Linked DNA regions of Homo sapiens: region 2 is linked to region 1. Evidence: promoter capture Hi-C in human tissues and cell types (Jung and others, 2019). All regions are on one chromosome and are shown on one strand. The core of a region is centred on a gene start or on the middle of the fragment in contact, and the rest is flanking DNA. Distances in the headings are between cores, read along the strand shown. Region 1 holds the start of DNAJC2 (DnaJ heat shock protein family (Hsp40) member C2). Region 2 overlaps FAM185A (family with sequence similarity 185 member A).

The links. The method cuts DNA at HindIII sites, captures the fragments that hold promoters and counts their contacts. A contact is called where the count stands out against the background at its distance.
Region 2: a fragment that was not itself captured here is called in contact with the fragment with the promoter of DNAJC2 in region 1 in 1 of the 25 tissues and cell types used here (lymphoblastoid cells).

What each region holds. Positions count from the first base shown.
Region 1 is chr7:103,342,691-103,346,874 of GRCh38, forward strand. It overlaps DNAJC2 (DnaJ heat shock protein family (Hsp40) member C2), which reads right to left and starts at 2,077. Exons shown (of 17, transcript NM_014377.3): 1 at 1,869-2,077. The coding sequence starts at 1,932. It also overlaps a transcript of PMPCB not described here. RefSeq lists an enhancer at 2,020-2,259. The HindIII fragment of the contact is 6,679 bases long and covers 1,190-4,184 here.
Region 2 is chr7:102,767,271-102,771,454 of GRCh38, forward strand. All of the region lies in intron 4 of FAM185A (family with sequence similarity 185 member A), which reads left to right. Among named protein-coding and RNA genes, the nearest start is that of FAM185A, 20 kb to the left of the region's middle. The HindIII fragment of the contact is 4,026 bases long and covers 1-3,263 here.

The sequences.
Region 1 (4,184 bases), core at 827-3,326:
CTCCGCCTCCCGGGTTCAAGCGATTCTCCTGCCTCAGCCTCCCGAGTAGCTGGGACTACAGGCACCCGCCACCACCCCCGGCTAATTTTTTGCATTTTTAGTAAAGACGGGGTTTCACCATATTAGCCAGGATGGTCTTGATCTCCTGACCTCGTGATCCACCCACCTCGGCCTGCCAAAATGCTGGGATTACAGGCGTGAGCCACCGCGCCCGGCCTAGACAAATAATTTTAATAAAGTAATAAATAGTGATAAATTGTCACGAAGAGCTAGCCTCACCAAAAATAAAAAATCTAAAAACAACTCAAACTATCTTTTTATTTTTTGAGACGGAGTTTTGCTCTTGTTGTCCAGGCTGTAGTGCAATAGCGCAATCTCGGCTCACTGCAACCTCCGCCTCCCGGGTTCAAACGATTCTTCTGCCTCAGCCTCCCAAGTTGCTGGGATTATAGGCGCCCGCCACCACGCCCAGCTACTTTTTTGTATTTTTAGTAGAGACAGGGTTTCACCCTGTTAGCCAGGCTGGTCTCGAACTGCTGACCTCAGGTGATCCACCTGCCTCGGCCTCCCAAAGTGCTGGGATTATAGACGTGAGCCACCGCACCCAGACAACTCAAACTGTCTTAATTATTAAAATCTTGAATATAGCTCTTAAAAATTTTAAGAATTCACTAACAAGAATTTGTCCTGAAAGCAATTTTCCAAGCAGCAAATGGGAATTTACTAATGCAGCTAAGCTGTAGTGGAACAAGCTCTCAATCTGAAACCAGACACTCTGGGTTTTAGACTAGGTCTGACAGTGGCTATGTGACCTGAAATGAATCAGGATGTCTTCACCTGTAAAATGGGAACAATACCTATTTATCTCATTCAGTTCCTAGGAAGCTTGAATGAGACCACAGAAACTCTCTGAAATTACAAACTTGTAGTAAAGGTATCATCTATTCCTGGGAAGTGGGGGTAAATCACTGTACATGTGTATACTAGCAATTCAAAAAAGGAAAATCCCTGAACAACTTATTTTAAGATTTCCTCCACCTTACACAGGAGAGGATTAAAACACTGTCAAAAAGGTACTACCTGTGTAGTATGGGTGTGTGGCTTTTAAGAACACTGCCTTTTAAGCCTTTTGCTCTAGTTGTAAGAGGCACACGGAGACACATAAATGCAACACGTGCCATGGGTTATGTTCAAAATCACATTCAACAAGCGCCTATGTGACTGGCTATGGGAATTACTGTAGATCACTGGACCTGAAGACTCTTAAGTTTACAATACTCATGACTGTCCTGGGCCATAAAACTAAAACCTACAGCAGCAGGACAAGTTTCACTTGTAATAACTGCCTTTCAAAGTCTACGCGGATCTTTTCAGCAGCACAGTCTTTGAACACCGAGTATGAGGAGCGGTGTCTGAGTTGTGACATTTAAAAAACAAGGCCGGAGCAAACGTAGAGAGGGAGAAAGTTGTTTAAGAGAGCGCCAGTAGCAAAGCTTTGTACGACCCCAGGCACGTGGGGTGCTCGCTGCGCGTAGTCTTTCCACCGTAGGCAAGGAGATGCTTATGAGAACCTTTCTGGGGTGCTGGGGGGTTCCGTCCCGAAATGCTCAGCCCAATCCATGAGTCAGCAGCGGCGAGAGGAGGAAGCAACGGTAGGAGCAAAAGGAAGGCACCCCTCACCCTCCTTCCTTCTAATCTAGGGTAGGATTACTTTAAAACACGGAGCAAAAAGGCACTCGTCACGGCCCCATACGGCCCCGGGGCTAGTCGCCAGGGTCAAGGGTAGAGAGAGCCCAGGGTTGCCGAGGCGGAGGACTGAGGCAGGGGCAGCTGAGGTGAGAAGGAACCGAGGTTGGGTGGGCACTTACCAGAGGTCAGAGCGTGGGTGATGGCGGTGCCCCGGCCGTCCGCGGCGCTTGGCAGAAGCAGCATGATGGCGCCGGGTCTAGCCCGGTGGGCGCAGCGGCTCACGTCCCGGGCGGAGGGCGCTTAGGGTCCCCTCCAGCTCTACCTCTCACTCCGAGCCTCGCGCCTTGGCTCTAAGACGCCCAGGAACCGGCGCATGGAGACGACCAGTAAGCACTTCCGGGATGGATCTTTCGTGGTGTGGAGGCCAGTCTCACACCCTCCCACCCCCGCCAACGTGTGCGGTAACCTAGTTCTATACTGACTGAGATCCGGCTGGAGACCAAGTCGCACGAGAGAATGGTTCCTAGGCGCATCAGTTTTCCTGTAAAAAGGATTATATTCCACGTCCCAGTGCAATACATAGAACATAACCTTTAAAAGCAGTTCTTTTTATATTATCTTTAAGTTCTTACTGCTTTATGTATTAATCTGAACCTAATCAGTGATTTTCCCAGGAGCGCTATACTTTTAAGTAAAAAATGAAAATACCTGTATGAACCAGTATCGACGACTAGTATATACATTTGCGGAGAATTACGTACGTGTATTTGTGATACATTTGTGTTTAACTTGATGATGATAATAGCAGCTAATATTTGTCGTGCTATTACTAATTTACCTGCATTATATCTTTTAATACTCGCTTGGAGAAGAAACCTCTCTCTAGTGTGTTAGATTGTATTCCAAGGCCAGCAATATTTTTACCTTGTTCTAATGAAGTTTTTATTCAAGATATTCCCAATTATAGGACTCTGGGACTTAATTTTTTAATGTATAATAAAATCAATTGTATTCCTACTATATGCTTCCTTCTAAGACTGCAGTCAAAAGCAAAAACTAGCAAAAACAAACAGTGGGTAAAGGCTCACCCCCAACAGCAGTATCTGAAACAGGTTCAATAAAATAAACTTGATATGCCACTCTTTAGCAAGGACCACCAGAAATTAGTAAATTAGAAAATAACTTACTAATTTCATTATATTTTCACAATTAAAGTTTTTAAATATATTATATATATATATATGTATATTTTTTTTTGTAGAGACAGGGTCTCACTATGTTGCCCAAGGTGGTCTTGAACTCCTGGCCTCAAGGGATCCTCCTGCCTCAGTCTCCCAAAACTCTGGGATTAGAGGCGTGAGTCACTGTGCCAGGCCAATTAAATACATTTAATTGGTCTGTATATCTGCTGCATGATAAAATTGTCACTTCAAAACTGACTTTTCAAAAATTGAACTAAGGGAGGCTGAGGTGGGAAGATCGTTGAGGCCGGGAGGTGGAGGTTGCAGTGAGCTGAGATCACACCATTGCGCTCCAGCCTGGGTAACAGTGAGACCCCGTCTTTAAAAAAAAAAAAATTGAACTAATCTTCTGCCCCAAAACCTCTTCCTGATCCCTACTAATGCAACCACTGTTAAAACATGCTCCAAGGTGCAAAGTAACCTGACTCCACTTTCTTCATATTAATATATTTTTTTCCTCACACCTCCTCCCATTCAATTTTACCATTAACTCTAACATGGGTTTTTGTTTTTTTGTTGTTTTCTTTTCTGAGACAGAGGCTTGCTCTGTCGCCCAGGCTGGAGTGCAGTGGCCTGATTTCGGCTCACTGCAATCTCTGCCTCCCAGGTTCAAGCGATTCTCCTGCCTCAGCCTCCCGAGTAGCTGGGATTACAGGTGCGTGCCACCACGCCCAGCTAATTTCTGTATTTGTAGTAGAGACGGGGTTTAGCCATGTTGGCCAGGCTGGTCTCCAACTCCTGACCTCATGATCTGCCTGCTTCAGCCTCCCAAAGTGCTGGAATTACAGGGGTGAGCCACGGTGCCCGGTCGGGGGTTTTGTTTTTTAAAAAAATTGTGCTAAAACACACATAACATGAAATTTACGATCTTCACCGTTTTTAAGTTTACAGTAATGTTAAGTACATTCACATTATTGTGTAACCACCCTACAAAACTATTTTTATCTTACAAAACTGAAACTCTATACCCATTTAATCTCTTACAAAACTGAAACTATGCCAGTGGAAAAAACTGTCCACTGGAAACCATCCTTCTACTTTGTCTTTAGGAATTTGACACCTCTAGGTACTTCATATTTGTGGAATCATATAGTATTTGTCTTTTTTGTGACTGACTTATTCACTTAGCATAATGTCTTCAAGGTTCATCTGTGTTGTAGCTTATACTAGAATTTCATTCCTTTTTAAGGCTGAATAATGTGTGTGTGTGTGTGTGTGTGTGTGTGTGTGTGTGAGCGCGCATGCGTGTATCAC
Region 2 (4,184 bases), core at 1-2,500, 580 kb before region 1:
TGTGGCTTCCAAGTCTTCCATGAAAAATGAGACAGCACAGAGGATCATGGAAGAAGTTTCAGAAACCAGGCCTAGAAGTGCATATATTACTTCTGCCCATAGATCTTTGGACAAAATATTTTCAAATGGCTTTACCTAACTGCAAAGGCTGAGATATGTAGTTTAGCAGTACTTTTATGGAAGAAGAGAGGCACACAAATATTAATGGACACTGGCAGTCTCTATCATATATTTATAATTGCTCTTTCACAAATGTCTCTATATTCCTTCTCTTTCCACCTCTGTGATAATTGGTATTCTCCAGGATTTCATCCTTGTCCTATTGTTCTTTCTCTACATATTTTCCTAGGGCATCTTATATACTTTTGAGTCTGAACTACCCTTACAAGGGTGTTTCAAATCTGATTATTCAAATCTATGTCTCTAGCCCTGACTAATTTATACATCCATCTGGCAGGTAGACATAGCCATTTGGATCTTCACAGACATCTTGAACTCAACATTTCTTGCTTTTTTCCCTTCTTCCCCAGTCCCTGAACGTCATCTGTAATGTGTCCTCTTTCCTTGTTTTTATTTGCTGTTTCTGATATTGCCATGTTCCCAATTCCCATGCTATAAATCTGGCAGTGGTCTTAACTTCCTGTTTCTCTCTCATCTCCTGCATCTAATCAACTACCAAGTTTAGGCAGGTTTTATCTCCTAAATATTTTTTCAATCTATCTCACCTTTTTCCTGCTAATTTCTACACTTCTGTTTTAGACCCTCTTGACCTCTTGCCTTGATACTAGCAATAACTTTGCCTCCAGCCTTGCCTTCTTCAGATCCATTTCTCCTCACTGCAGCTAAAGTAGTTTATTAGTAATGCACATTGAACATGTCATTCTCTTATTCGGACCGTTTTCTACTGCCTTAGTGACGTGCCCAACTTCCCTCTTCCCTCTTCTGACTGTATGCTTTGTCTTCCAGAATTAGTCTTTTTTCCTATATACATTTTTACCTGTTTTATACCTCTGAGTTCTTGATCAGAGCCTTTGATCATACTGATCATACTGTTTATATTCTGCCTGAAATGCTTTTCCTAGCTTTTTAAAAATCTTGTTGACTTTTTTAATCTTTCAGTACTCAGCTAAAGCATCTTGCCTCATCTCTGGTTTTCTATAAATCCTTGCCTAATTATAAATTCCTCAAGAACAAAGATTATGTTTTATTCATCTCTATATTCTTAGCATTTAGCACTGTGGCTTGCAAATACAAGTGTCTCCCTTTCCACCTCCCCACCCCTACCCACCAAAAACCACAAAATGACTTAATCTTTAAGGATACTTGATTACTCTGTTTGGATTTTAAGAGTTCTATGTGCTTGAACCATAATCACATTTCTTTTGGTGAAGAAAAATAAACCAATGTTTATCTTTAAATTGATTACATTTTTTTTTCCTCTGACCATGCTAGAATGAAAGGTTACAAGCTAAGAAAAACTATCTATTTTCTCAAATACTGGGATTTGTGGAAAACTTATATAACTTGAGAGTAGGGTAAGCACACATAGTTATTACAGACCATCTGGTGTCTGCTTTATTGGAAAGAAGCTTTTACTAAGATTTACTCCTCTCAAATAATTAATTTATTATTTTCAGTGTTTGGAGATGAAGTAGGTGGAATCAAAATATAGAAAATTTTGCTAATAATGCCCATTTTGTTGCTTGGTATACTTTTAAATATACTACTTTATTCCACTATGCATTTGAAGGAAGAAATCCATTTTGTGTTTTCTAATGACTTTAGAATATTTCTGTTTAAGGTAGAGATTTTCTAAATATTTTGATATGAGTTGAAAATAAGTTTTTGTTTACTGTTTTATTTAGAGTTGACAAAAATATTTTGAAGTGTTACTTACAACTAGACAGTATTTGAAATGATTCCTTAATTCCATGGGTTTTTGTTGTTGTTGCTCCATTATGCTTTTAGTATACAGTAGAACTCAAACATTCAAGAAGAATGTTATCTGAGACTCTATAGGTCCCACTATAATTAACTAATCCTCATTTTGTATAGATCTAAAACTTCTATTTTTCTGGTTCAAAGAATCATTGTTTTCTCAAGACCTCCTCACTTTCATGACAAGCACTAATGATTGGCTTTTTGAGAAAGACCATATTTTTATTTTAAAAAAAATTGTAAATTTTTACTGCATTATTAAAGACTAGTGTAAAACTATAAAGCTCCATTGCCTTGATGAGTGGGTGACTGGATTCACTAGCTAAATGACTGTAAAACTTTATCATAGTTCTTTATTAATAAAGTTACGAATATCAGGGACCTGTCTATCTTTTATTGTTCAGGAGGTAGAGCAGTGTCTTAGTCTGTTTTCTGTTGCTATAACAGAATACCTGAGACTGAGTGATTTATAAAGCTTATATATTACAGTTCTGGAGGCTGAGAAGTCTGAGGTCTAGGAGCCGCATCTGGTGAGAGCCTTCTTGCGGATAGGGGCTCTGCAGAGTCATGAAGTGGCACAGGCCTCACATGGAGAGAGGCTGCATGAGAGACACCCACACTGGCTCTTATAACAGACTCACTCTTGTAATAGCTAACCCACTCCCTCTATGACCCATTAATCCATTGATTCATGAATGGGTTAATCCATTCATGAGGGTAGAGCCCTCATGACCCAATTACCTCCCAAAGGTCCCACCTCATAGTATTGCTGCACTGGGGACTAAGTTTCCAACACATGAACTTTTGTGGGAACGTTCAAACCACAACAAGCAGTAAAGAGAATGCTGAGTATGGAAACACCCACTGTCTCACACTAGGTGAATCTCCTTAAAGCATGGTTTTCTTGTATTTTTATTCATCTTGAAATTCTTCACTAACTTTTTTGGTGTAGGATAGTCAGTAGACTTAGCACTCTGTGGTTCTACCACAGGTTGCTCTTTACCTACTTTTCCAAACTTTTTATTTGTTCACAAAATAATTGTGTTTACTATGTACTATGCACTGTGCAAAGTTCCCAGGTATGAAGCTAAATAAGAAAGATGTGATTCCTGTCCTCCTAGACTTGCCTCATTGGGATCTAATTAAATGAAAGAGCTTCTGCACTGCAAAAGAAATTATGAACAGAGTAAATAGACAACCTACAGAATGGGAGAAAATATTTGCAAACTCTGTATCTGACAAAGGTTTAATATCCTTTGTTCCTTTGAATCTTCAAGGAAGTTAAACAAATCAATAAGCAAAAAACTAATAACCCTATTAAAAATGAGCAAAAGACAGGACATTTTGCTCATTTCTCAAGAGAAGACGTACAAGAAACCAACAAACATGAAAAACTGTTCCAAATCACTAGTCATCAGAGAAATGCAAATCAAAACCACAATGAGATATCATCTCACACCAGTCAGAATGGCTATTATTAAAAATAAGTAAAAAAACAACAGACGCTGGCGAGGCTGTGGAGAAAGGGGAACACTCATACACTGTTGGTGGGAATGTAAATTAGTTCAGCCACTGTGGAAAGCAGTTTGAAGATTTCTCAAAGAACTTAAAACAGAACCACCATTCAACCCAGCAATTCCATTACTGGATATATACACAAAAGAAAATAAATCATTCTTCCAAAAAGACACATGCACTCAACATATTCACTGCAGCTCTATTCACAATAGCAAAGACATGGAATCAACCTATGTGCCCATCAGTGGTGGACTGGATAAAGAGAATGTGGTACATATACACCATGGAATACTATGCGGCCATAAAGAAGAATGAAATTATATCCTTTGCAGCAGCATGGATGCAGTTGGAAGCCACTATCCTAAGCGAATTAACACAGGAATAGAAAACCAAATACCACATGGTCTTACCTATAAGTGGGGGGTAAACATTGGATAATTATGGACATAAAGATGGCAACAGTAGAAACTGGAGTCTACTAGATGGGGGATGGAGGGACGGGGCAAGGGTTGAAAAACTATTGGGTACTATGCCTAGTACCTGGGTGATGGGATCATTTGTACCCCAGACTTCAACATCACACAATATACCCAGGTAACAAACCTGCACATGTATCCCCTGAATCTAAAATATGAAAAAAAATTAGTAATCTTATAAGCTTCAGTACACAAACCAAGTTTTTATTCATACACAAATATACTCCTTGTTCATATACTCACAAGAAATAT